Regions from separate parts of the Homo sapiens genome. Here region 1 is linked to region 2. The links are contacts of gene promoters, found by promoter capture Hi-C in blood cells and fetal thymus (Javierre and others, 2016). All regions are on one chromosome and are shown on one strand. Each heading gives the region's core, a stretch centred on a gene start or on the middle of the fragment in contact. The rest is flanking DNA. Distances are from core to core; before and after follow the strand shown. Region 1 has its middle 20 kb from the start of EPM2AIP1. Region 2 holds the start of PDCD6IP (programmed cell death 6 interacting protein).

Evidence for each region. Contacts are between HindIII fragments. The CHiCAGO score rates a contact against its expected background, and 5 or more counts as called.
Region 1: a fragment that was not itself captured here is called in contact with the fragment with the promoter of PDCD6IP in region 2 in 2 of 17 cell types (M0 macrophages and M2 macrophages); the score reaches 11.0 in M0 macrophages.

The regions. Positions count from the first base shown.
Region 1 is chr3:36,969,902-36,975,898 of GRCh38, forward strand. No RefSeq gene overlaps it. Among named protein-coding and RNA genes, the nearest start is that of EPM2AIP1, 20 kb to the right of the region's middle. RefSeq lists an enhancer at 1-47. The HindIII fragment of the contact is 2,991 bases long and covers 241-3,231 here.
Region 2 is chr3:33,795,510-33,802,413 of GRCh38, forward strand. It overlaps PDCD6IP (programmed cell death 6 interacting protein), which reads left to right and starts at 3,121. Exons shown (of 18, transcript NM_013374.6): 1 at 3,121-3,428. The coding sequence starts at 3,220. It overlaps PDCD6IP-DT (PDCD6IP divergent transcript), which reads right to left and starts at 3,010. Exons shown (of 2, transcript NR_183731.1): 1 at 2,886-3,010; 2 at 1-2,513. RefSeq lists enhancers at 2,988-3,337, 3,284-3,817. The HindIII fragment of the contact is 5,708 bases long and covers 1-3,766 here.

The DNA of each region.
Region 1 (5,997 bases), core at 486-2,985, 3.2 Mb after region 2:
GGGAATATTTGGTGAAGAGATCTTCTTTCACTATTGTACACTTGCTATGGACATGTCCATGCCTGCTGCCTGGCAGGCACCATTCATTAAGTAGGCCCCTGTTGCCAAGGAAACCAGCTCTTCACTGATACCAAAGATAATGCAGAGGCCTGCCGCTCACCAAGCAACCTTCCTCATGAGCTATGCCCCCACCTTCCTGAACTGTCTCTTGCTCCTGTTTGATACTGTCATGCTGCACGAAGCTTACACTTGCTATCTCTCACTTCCCTCTTAGTCATCTGTGATGCTGGCTAAGGGAGCTAGGCCAGTCAGCAGTGACCTGTTGCCCTTGGTTTATTATAAGCAAACTGTTCACAAGAAATGAACTTCTGTTGTTTTATAAATGATATGCATCACAGAACACAGAATAATATCAAAACCACATTAGTTTTTTCATACTTGCTTCATTGACCCCAGGGGAAGAGGGGAGAGCAGGGAGAGGACTTTCTCTTTTTTTAAATACTAATTATATTGAGGTATAAAGAACATATAGTAAGTTCACAGACCTTAAGTATACAGTTTGATGAGTTTTGGCAAATATGTATACCTGTGGAACCAACACCTCAGTCAAGATATAAATACTTACATCAGCCGGGCGCAGTGGCTCATGCCCGTAATCCTAGCACTTTGGGAGGCCAAGGCAGGTGGATCATGAGGTCAGGAGATCGAGACCATCCTGGCTGTCCACTAAAAATACAAAAAATTAGCCAGGCATGGTGGCACATGCCTGTTGTCCCAGCTACTCAGGAGGTTGAGGCAGGAAAATCGCTTGAACCCGGGAGGCAGAGGTTGCATTGAGCCGAGATAGCACCACTGCACTCCAGCCTGGGCAACAGAGAGAGACTCCGTCTCAAAAAAACAAAAAACAACAAAAAAAACCATACATCGACCCAGAAAGTTCCTTCTGTCAGTAGCAGTTCACCCCCCCATGCCCCCAACCCTTGGCCTCCCTGCCTTCCCATCTCCACTCCCAACCCTCACTGCTCTGATTCTATCACCATTGTTTTGATTCTTCTGCTGTTGATCTTCATAAAACCAGTATATTTCCTTTTGTGTCTGGTTTATTTTCCTCAGAATAATGTTTTTAACATTTATCCATATTGTTATGTGTATCAGTCGTTTCTTCCAGATTAGTACTCTATTGTATGGATAGAGCCTATTTTGTTTACCCATTTCCTGTTGACAGACATTTGGTTTGTTCCCAGTTTTGGATTATAATGAATAAAGCTGCTATGAACATTCTTGAACGATGAACATTTTTGTGGACATATGTTTTGATTTTTTTGTGTAAATACCTAGGAGTGAAATTATTGAGGTATGGTATAGGTTTATGCTTAATTTTATAGAGTACTTAAACTTGATTCTTTTATTTAAAATTGTGATAAAATACACATAACATAAAATGAACCGTCTTAACTGTTTTTAACTGTACAGTGCAGTGGTACGAAGCACATTCACATTGTTGCACAACCATCACCACCATCCATCTGCAGAATTATTTTTATCTTGCAAAACTGGAACTCTGAACCAGGTGCGGTGGCTCACGACTGTAATCTCAGCACTTTGAGAGGCCGAAGCAGGAGGATCGCTTCAGCCCAGGAGTTTGAGACCAGCTGGGGCAATATAGTGAGACACCGTCTCTATAAAAACAAAATAAAAATAGACCAGGCGCGATGGCTCATGCCTGTAATCCCAGCACTTTGGGAGGCCATGGTGGGCAGATTGCCTGAGCTCAGGAGTTCAAGACCAGCCTGCCCAACATGGTGAAACCCCATCTGTACTAAAAATACAAAAAATTACCTGGGCATGGTGGCGCGCACCTGTAGTCCCGGTTACTCTGGAGGCTGCAGCAGGAGAATCGTTTGAACCTGGGAGGCGGAGGTTGCAGTGAGCCAAGATCGTGCCACTGCACTACAGCCTGGGCAACAGAGTGAGACTCTATCTCAGAAAAATAAAATAGCTGGGCGCGGTGGCTCATGCCTGTAATCCCAGCACTTTGGGAGGCTGAGGCGGGCGGATCACGAGGTCAGGAGATTGAGACCATCCTGGCTAACACGTGAAACCCCGTCTCTACTAAAAATACAAAAAAATTAGCTGGGAGTAGTGGCGGGCGCCTGTAGTCCCAGCTACTCAGGAGGCTGAGGCAGGTGAATGGCATGAACCCGTGAGGTGGAGCTTGCAGTGAGCCGAGATCATGCCACTGCACTCCAGCCTGGGCGACAGAGCGAGACTCCATCTCAAAATAAATAAATAAATAAATGAAATGAAATAAAATAAAATAAAATAAAAATAGCCAAGTATAGTGATACACATCTGTAGTCCCAGCTACTCAGGAAGCTGAGGTGGGAGGGTCACTTGAGCCCAGGAGTTCAAGGCTGCAGTGAGCTTTGAGCGTGCCATTGTACTCTCCCTGGGTGACAAAGCAAGGCCCTATCTAAAACAAACAAACAAGCAAACAAAAAACCCCAAAACTGGAACTCTGTATCTATTAAACAGTAATCTCTCATTGAGTGGTGTTAAGAGTAAAATTTTTTTTAACAAAAGAAAAAAGTAAAAAGTAAATTTTGAAAAAAGAATTAAAAACAAAAAATCTCCATTACCCCCTCCCCCAGCCCCTGGCAACCACCATTCTACTTTCTGTCTTTCTGAATTTGACTACTGCACATAACCTTATATAGGTGGAATCAAACAGTATTTGTCTTTTTGTGACTGACTTATTTCACTTAGGATAGTGCCCTCAGCTTTTAAAAGGAAAGACATTTTGATATATGCTACAACATAATATTCCATTGTATGTACATACCAAATTTTATTAACGATTTCATCTGTCAATGAACATTTGGGTTGCTTCCACCTTTTGTCTATTGTGAATAATGCTGCCGCGAACATGTTTAAGTCCTTGCTTTCACTTTTTTGTGTATACACCCAGAAGTTGAAATGCTGGATTATATGTAATTCTATTTTTAATATGAGTGACTGCCATACTGTTTTCTATAGTGGCTGTACCGTTTTACGTTCCCACTAAGAGAACATGAGTGTTCCAGTTTCACCATATCCTCACCAACACTTATTTTCTGTTTTGTTGGTGGTAGCCATCCTACTGGATGTAAACTTTATTCATTTTTCGAACCTTTTTAATATGGAATTTTCAAACACACACAAAAGATGAGAGATCTCCAGGTACCCACCACAAGCTTTAATAATGATTAACATTTGGTAGCAGGTGGACAAAGATATACCTTCTCTATAGCAGCTATAAGATCAGGGACAAACAAAGATCTATTTGGAACTCCAACTAAGAATGGTGTTTTGTAGGCTGCCTGATGAATAAGGTTAGATAACTAATGGCCAGTCTTTCAGCCTGTGCTCAAGGGATAGGATAACAATAAAGCATAGTTGGTGAAGGAGCAGCAGATAAAGGTCACAATAGATAGGCCATAAGAGAACCCTCACTATCACTTACCATTCAGACCATTCGCTTCATATTCTAACAAGTTATTTTCCTTTCATAAAAGGAAGCTGAAGCTTTTATTTGTGTTTGTGGTGCATGTGATCCATGAGAGGGGACTCAACCAGGTGCTATGTGTGAGTAGTACTTAATCCGACAGTATTAGTGGGCTGGTGGGCTTTCCTGGTTACATGGGAACCCTAGAAACCCAAGCCAAGCACAAAAGCCAAGACTGAATTCTCCAGTAAGTCACCTGGTAGCCTTGACATGCTCATGCTTAAAAAAGAGCCAGTGACCTATTAATAGGAAGCTCCTGAAATGAGTCCTCTGAACATCTGCAAGTATGGTCAGCTACACCTGAGCTGAGACTTGCCTGTTTCCCTGCCAGGAAATCATGGGCTCAGAAATGGCAGGTACCATGTGTATTAACTATATTTCCTTACTTTCTGTCTTCTTGATGTTCTAGCATCAGGTGCCTCTTTGACCTAAGAGACTTCCCCTCCTAGGACTAGCTAATTCCTAGAAATATCAAACCACTCCCCTGTAAGCATGCCATTCCTATGCAAACCAACCAATCCAGAGCCCATACTCGAAACCACTTCCTTTACCTGGCTCTTCCACACCAGAGGGCAATGTTCCTCTGTCCTAATCATTCTCAGGGCTAGATATCAGATAACTACAAATGCTCCTTGACTTATGGTGGGGTTACATCCTAATAAACCCATCATAAGTTGAAAATATCATAAGTCAAAAGTACATTTAAATCAGGTGTGGTGGCACATGCCTGTAGTCCCAGCTATCTTGGGAGGCTGAGACAGGAGGATCACTTGAGGCTGTGGTGCACTATGATCATGCCTGTGAATAGCCACTGCACCCCAGCCTGGGCAACAGAGTGAGACCTCATACCTTAAAAAAAAATTAAAAAACAAGCTCTCACCAGTCGAAGATGAGGCAACATAAGCAATAAGCACTAAAAAGAATAATGACTGCAAACCAAAATAAATAAGAAGATAAAAGTCCACAAGTTTATAAATAAAAGGTTTTATTTAAAAGCCCACAAGTAAAAAAGAGGAGAGAAACGCTAACTCCTAACTCTGAAAATTAGTAATTAAAGGGAAAGAAGCCTTCAACAATTTTTTTTTTTCTGAGACAGAGTCTTGCTCTGTCACTCAGGCTGAAGTACAGTGGCATAATCACAGCTCACTGCACCCTCAAACTCCTGGGCTTAAGCAATTCTCCTGCCTCAGCCTCCCAAGTGGCTTGGACTACAGGTGTGTGCCTCCACACTCGGCTGATTTTAAATGTTTTGTAGAGATGGGGTCTCACTATATTGCCCAGGCTGGTCTCCAACTCCTGAGCTCAAGCAAAACTCCCACCTCAGCCTCCCAAGTAGCCAGGGCCATAGGTGTGCACCACCATGCCCAGCTAATTTTCCTTTTTTCCATTTTGTAGAGATGGGCTCTCGCCATGTTGCCCAAGCTGTTCTCCAACTCCTGAGCTCAGACAATCCTCCCGCCTCGGCCTCCCAGGTGTGAGCCACTATGCCTGGCCAAAAATTTTTTAATGAAGTCCCCCTGGGTCCAGGCACTGGTTTGGGCACTGAAGATTCAGCAGTAAAGTAAAATAAATTTCCTCATTGATCTTGTCAGTGACTCCTTTGCATGCTTGCTTCACACTATATTTCAAGGTAACCAAATAGTTGTAGTTAGAAAAAGTTCCATCTTACAGAAAACTTTCAGCTAATAAATGTAGAGGGAATGATAAAGTTAGAAAAATAACTATATTTTAAGTCCTAATGAAACAACAGACCCACACAACAATGACCAACGGATGAAAAATATCAGGTGAAACACTTATACGGAACCTGTCAGTGGCAAGATTGGGCTGTAACCACCTGAAACCACTGACCAATCTCGGCATTACTAAAACAGGGCTGACCAGATAGTCTGTGATTCTGATGTAAAGCAATAAGGAGTACATAGCACCACCTTTTCAGTAGCCAAAACAGTTAAACCTGAATCTAATCAAGACTTTAGAATTACCTTTACGATTGGATGAAATATGGAGAGCAGAAGAACAAATTCAACAGCACAAAAAGGAAGAAAACAGATAAATCTAGAGTGGGCCACGTTCTACAAAACTGAGCTGGTTTCTTGGTCAAGACAATAGCATGGAAAAAAATGGGAAGTAGGCAAAGAGACTCCTCTGGATTGAATGAAATTTAAGAGACACAATAGCCAAGTATGATGTGTGGACCTTGTTTGGATCTAGATTTGAAGAAATCGATTGTAAAAAGTAATTTTTGAAAACAAATAGGGAAATCTGAATATGGGCTAGGCATTAGTTTTTACCAAAGAATTATTATTAGGTGTGATAATGGTACTGTAATTACGTAAGATTGTAATTATTTATATTGTTTTTAGAGATAAAAATAAGACCTTCAGTGCTGAAGAAGGGCACAGTGGCACATGGCACAGCACAGCATCTACATCATCAGTCAAATAAGAATT
Region 2 (6,904 bases), core at 1,871-4,370:
GATTTTGAAATTGTTTATTGTCAGAACATAAGCTAGCCAATCTTGACTAATATACCATAATTCTTTGCTTATTGGCCTATTGCCTAATTAGCTGGAGTGCTTGTTGTTGGTGAAAGTGTGTTATTTTGGAAGTAGAGAATATATTTTATATATATATATTTTTTTTTTTTACAAGGGTGAAACTTATTTAATGATATTTATTGAATGCCTGCTATACCAAGTGCTAGAGATGCATCAGTATACAAAACACACAATTTTTGCCCTCATGGAGCTTACATTTTAGTGGGGAAGTCAGATAAAAATTATATCAACAAACAAAATACTTGCAAGTTAGGGTAAGTGTTATGAAGGAACTAATGGCTGCGCTAGAGGTTAACAAGGGAGGGAATCTACTTTAGATAGTATGATGATGAGGAGAGGAGACCTTTCAACTGAGATATGAAGAAAGGGAGAAAACATTCTAGGTCACATGAGGCAAGAAAGATCTTGGTGTGTTTGAGAAACTAAAAAGACCATTGTGACTCAGTGGTAACAAATGAGGAACAAGAGGCAAAATATGAAGTTGCAGAGAAAGATCATCATGTTGTGGCAGGGAGTTTGGTTTTCATTCCAAGCCATCAGATAGTATCACCTTAATCTTCCTTTGGTCAATGCCACAAAACTAACCACATCTATGTTAACTTTCTTTTCTCCGCCATCTGCCTCAACAAATGTCATGTCCCTCATCTTTCTGATGGCTAATCACTCCCTTTGTATCCTCCCTCCTCTGGTTACCCTTTCTCCTCTTTTCATATACTTTGCTTCTTCGTTATCTTCCCAATGGGTCAGTCCTGTCAACCAACCTACAAGACACCACCCATCCCCCACCCTCTTCCATGGGTTATCAACTGGTAATGATTCTACTAACCACTCAGATGTTCAGGCCCCAAAACCAGGACCTATCTTGACCACTCTCTTTTCTTTACTTTCCTATGCAGTTCATTGGTAAATTCTTCAGTTTTAAACTCAAAGATATTATCAGTTTGGTTCACTCTTGCTAATGTTAGCTTTCCTGATTTCGTCTTGATTTCTGAAATGGTCTCATGATTTGCCTCCTTGCCTCCATTCTTTCCTTCCTCTAATTTTTTCTTTATGCATCAGCCAAGGGTGGCTACTTATTTTAACATAGAATAGCTTAATTAAAATAAACAAAAATTTTTATAAATTGTGGTAAAATAGGCCGGGTGCAGTGGCTCACGCCTGTAATCCCAGCACTTTGGGAGGCTAAAGCGGGTGGATCACTTGAGGCCAGGAGTTCGAGACCAGCCGGGCCAACATCGCGAAATCCAGTCTCTATTAAAAATACAAAAATTAGCCAGGCATGTGGTGTGCACCTGTAGTCCCAGCTACTCAGAAGGCTGAGGCAGGAGAATAGCTTGAACCTGGGAGGTGGAGGTTGCAGTGGGCTGAGATTGTGCCACTGCACTCCAGCCTGGGTGACAGAGTGAGACTCTTTCTAAAAAAAAAAAAATTGTGGTAAAATAAACTTTTACTATAATGAAAGTAGTCTATGTGCTGCAAAAGTTACAATGAAAAAGATAGGCAAACACAAAGAAAAAAATACACATTTCCACTTCCAAAGATTACCAATACTAACACCTTAGGGTATAAGCCCACTATTTTTTTAGTTGTACATAAATACATATATGTGCATTTTTAAACCAAAATGAGATGCTGTAACATACTATTTCGTGACTTGCTCTTTTCAGTTAATGATCTTTTCCATGGCAATACAGTTCTATTTTATCCAATACTCAGTCCATCTACATTCATATTTCTTTAATGGTCCTGAAAATGCATTTTATAGACAGTCTGTTCAAACCAGGATCCAATTCAAACTGTTATGTCCCTTAAATTTCTTTTCATAAAGCAGTTGCTTTTATCATGACAAATTGTTGAAGAGATGGGCCAGTTATCCTGCAGAATGTTTCACCTTCTGGATCTGTCTAGTTACTTCCTCTGGCATCATTTAGTTTGTTCATCTATCTGTTGTATTTTTTATAAACTGTGTTAGATGCAAAGGCTTGACAGATTCAAGTTAAATATTTTTGCCTGGAATATACCATGATGATACTGTATACTACATCCCATCAAAAGACAAACTATCCGATTGAGCTACAACGTGGCCTTTAAAAAATGTAAATTATAAGTGTATATAGCTTCCTCTGCATTTATTATACAATACTAAACAAATTCTTCAACTTGGACAACAAGTTTCTGAATGATTTGATGCCTGCTTACTCATCCAACTTTATTCCATCCCATTCTATTTGTTTTTAAAGGTCTTGTCACATGTTTCGTTTCTAGTCCTGAAACATGGTTAAGTGCTTGCCTCCTAGGGCCTCTGCCGCAGGCTTTTGGTTTGGAGGCTCTCCTTTGCCACTCCACCCCTCTCCACTCTTCTCCTCTTCTGATATCAAGCATCTTCTCAAATTACAGGTGTCGTTTTTAATTTATTTAAAATTTTGTTCTTTCTACAAAACAGCAACCAGAGACACAGGTTCATTTTCAGTTAACCTACTCGGAGAAAACCTACTTTATCTTATTTAAATTAGGGTCCTCCAAGCGATCTTAACATCTCCTAAGTCCCAAGCACCCTGTTTTTTTCCTGATACTTTTTCCGTTTACCTTAAGGTCTGTGTCAACCTGACAGTAAGCTGCACGATGGCAGGGGTCTTGCCTACTAGGTTCCCTGTGCACAGCAGCCCGTCAACAGTAGTTGAATAAACATCATAGGTCACAATAACCCTGGGACTGCCTCTTGGGGAGGTAGCCGCAAACTCTCGCAGGTGGCAGTGACACCAGTACTTCTCCGGGGGGTTGTTCGAGTGGAGGAATACTCTTACGTGAAAGTGCTCAGTACACCACTGCGGCAGGAAGGAGGAAGGGAAGAATTCCAGATGGGGAGAAAGTAATATTTTGCAGCACAGTACAGGGTAAACTGGGTCCAGGTGGGCGTAGCCGCCGCGACACCTTCACGTGACCGCGGACAGCTTAAGGACCCCGCATCCAGTGCGCCTGCGCTGGAGCTCCCGGAAGTTGCCGGACCCGGAACGCAGGCGGAGCGCAAGTCTGTCAGCCAGTCAGTCCGCCAGTCCGCCAGCCCAGTACCTCTCTCTCCTCGGCCCTCGTAAGCTGTCCGCGGTCTGTTTGGCCCGAACGGCGGCGGAGGCGCTGATCATGGCGACATTCATCTCGGTGCAGCTGAAAAAGACCTCAGAGGTGGACCTGGCCAAGCCGCTGGTGAAGTTCATCCAGCAGACTTACCCAAGCGGCGGGGAAGAGCAGGCCCAGTACTGCCGCGCGGCGGAGGAGCTCAGCAAGCTGCGCCGCGCCGCAGTCGGTCGTCCGCTGGACAAGCACGAGGGCGCGCTCGAGACGCTCCTGAGGTGGGCGCGGGGCTGGGAGTGGGTAGGTTGTCTGCCAGCCGTCGCTCGCCGCTCCTCTTCCCGTCTCCCCCCTTCCTTCAATCCTGTAACCTGGGCGGAGCCGCCCCGTCCCGGCCTGACCAGGCGCGTAGGTGTGGTCTGCATTCTTTGCTGGTGAGCAGGACCCGCCCTGCAGGCCCGCTGTGACTGCCCGCTTGTCCTGCCTGCACGTCTGCTCTAGCCCTTGGTCGGCGAGGGCTCCGTGGATCAGATACCTGGGAGCAGCAGTCTGCCCTGTACTGATCTCTTTTGCCACATTTACTTAGAACTAGTCTTCACTTTTTTGGGTCTCTAACTGAAGCTTCCCCTTTCGCCCCATTTTTCCATCACTGTCTTTCTTGGGCCACATTTTGATTTCATAATAGTAGTTGCTTGAAGGCAGTGGGGGAAGTGGGGGAATTGGGACACTGGACCAAATGTCTGATCAGCTCATCACATTGTCCACATGAAATGGACCGTCTTCCTCAGTTCAAAATAATCAAATGATAGATGGAGAATTCTGAAAGTTAGGAGCTACAACTATTTGAAATAAAACTCTAGTTACATAGTTGAACCGTTCAAGGTAGGTTGTTTAAAAGCAGTTTGTTCACAAACAGATATATACACAGTAGAGTAAATTTGTTATTTTAGCAAACGCTTATTTAGCTCATGCTGATTTAATGAGGGTTCCTTTCATGATACTTAATAGTTATAAGAACATTTTTTACGATTTTATAGTTAAACATTTCTTTTGCATACCTTGTTAATCTCGTTTTCTCCGTATAGTATATTCTACTTGTTTCACAGGAGAATCACAATTGTATTCCAATCCAAGTAGCAGAAACCCAGGCTAAACTAGCTTGAGCTAAGAAAAGACTTATTCTGCCGGGCGCGGTGGCTCACGCCTGTAATCCCAGCACTTTGGGAGGCCGAGGCGGGCGGATCACGAGGTCAGGAGATCGACACCATCCTGGCTAGCACGGTGAAACCCCATCTCTACTAAAAATACAACAAATTAGCCGGGCGTGGTGGCGGGTGCCTGTAGTCCCAGCTACTCGGGAGGCTGAGGCAGGAGAATGGTGTGAACCTGGGAGACGGAGCTTGCAGTGAGCCGAGATCGCGCCACTGCACTCCAGCCTGGGCGACAGAGTGAGACTCCATCTCAAAAAAAAAAAAAAAAAAAAAAAAAAGTAAGACTTATTCTGCTAACTGAAAAGTCTAGGGATATTCCTTCCTTAGCTTTAGGTATCACTGGAGATCGTCTTGCCTCCGTGATGCTTCCCTCGAAAGCTTTGTTCATGTATTGAGAGGGATGGCTGTAGTGTAATAACAATCGTCCGCAACACTCAGTATCTTACAGAAGGGAGTGCTTTTCTCCTTAGCTCTGGTGGAAGTCCATGGGAGGCTCCTGGGTTTGTTTGCACCCATTTATGATGGTGGGAAATGGGCTAAGTTAATTGCCCTTATCTGAGTCATCCAGCCGGTTTAATTTCTCCTTACCCCATGGATCAAAGCAAGATGAGTCCGGACTGGGGAAGGGTTGGTTCTCCGAAGGAAGGGGTACTGAATAGATTGCTCAGAGGAATTAAGACCCCTTGGTGTCAAATTTTAGAGCTACAACTGTTGGGCTGCAAGGATCATTAGTCTAATAGCATAAGCATTTTTTTTAAAGTTAACCTAGAAATACTTAGCCATTCTTTAGAATTAACATAATTAAACAATTTCAAGGTAATTTTTATGTAGGCATGAATAGCATTCAGTGAGGATTTTCCATTAGTAATATTAAGAAAACATAGTTGTGGTATAATGAGCCCTGTGATAAAAATCTTGTTGAATATATCAAATTTGGTTCCAGCCCTCAGATTTGGGGTCTTCAGAAGCACTTGGTGCATGGGTTTTAAGCTAACAGACATGGGAGGTTGGTGGATAATGGTTTGGATACGGTTCTCCTGTCAACTTTAAAACTTAATTCATTTGTTCCTTCCTTTATTCTTTTTACCAGACTTAAATGTGTGAACTGTTCCTAGGTAGTGGACCTGTTGTAGATATAGTCTCTTTGAAACTAACCATGTTTCTTTAGTCACCTCTGTATAATCCCCTCCTGCCACATTAATTCAACAAATATTAAGTATTTTCACTTTTTGGGCTTCTAGAGGGGTTAGGGTAAGCTTGGAGATATTACTAAAGTTTATAATGGAGGTAGGTACAAAAGTTTTGTAGGTATATACGCTGTAAAATTAGATGTGAATCAGTTGTGTGATGTTCATTCAAATCCGGCAGAATATCTTATTTTTAATAATTATGTTTGGATAATTGTGTAAACTTAACATTAATTTTTTAACTTAATGAACTTTTTAAACTAATGAACTTTGAAAAACAGAGTTTAAACTAATTCCTAAATAATTGAAGCCAGCTTGATAAGTCCTGATATGCAGCTCCATATATTGCTCCAGTGATAGACTTGTTTTCTTATTACTAACTTGTAGGTGTTCTATTAAAATTTCCTAAAATATACATTTATGCATATTATAATAATGAGAATGAGTACTTAAAAACTCATTTGTTCTGGGTGTGGTAGCATGCACTCATAATTCCAGCTGAGGCAGAAGGATCACTAGAGCCCACGAGTTGGAGACCAGCCTGAACTACATACTGAGACGCTGTCTCAAAACAAAACAAAACAACAACAACAAAAAACCCTTTTATATGATACTTCTTCCTTTATAAAGTGGCTTTTACTAAAAATTGATTAGACCTTGGTAAATGGTGACCTAGGGTGATCAAATGGGAACCCTGCTGGTTTTTTATTTTTATTTTGTATTTTATTTGAAGCTCCAGATATACCATTTACCAGCATTGTGTAATTTCTTTTGTGGTGATCAGTTTCTTTAGAGAGAAAGCTTCTAGTCTTCCATGAAAAAGTCTGCTTATCAGCTTTCTAAATTTTATCCTGGGGAATGGAGGTTGGGGATCTTAACAATCATGTATGCAGTCTATCAGGTACATCTATTTTTAGTATGACACCTGCATTAGGGTTAGGTTCATTTCTGTGTGGTAGATCCCAAATTATCTGAGTTAAGATTTTATTTTGTAAAAAGTTGGCAGGTAGGTAGTTCTGGTAGCCCAGGGCTGGTGTAGTGTTTCTGTGGAGTTAATTGGGGCTCAGATTCCTTTCAGCTTTCTGCTGTTTGAAACCTAGAATATTGTTCTCAGGTCCAGGTTGCAATCATATCCAAGTTCCAGGTAGTAGGATGGAGAAAGGCACGGGGCTCGCCCTTTAGGGTGTTTCCTGGCAACTGTTCCACAACACCCTGCCTATATGTTACCGGCCATTTTGTGTGTCCTTCTGATAGGATGCTAGGAAAAGGAATTTTCATTATGAGCAGCTGTATACTCAGCTAAAGGGACACAGTTTTGTTAATAAGGAATAGGATAGACTGATAATGATGTAGTCAATT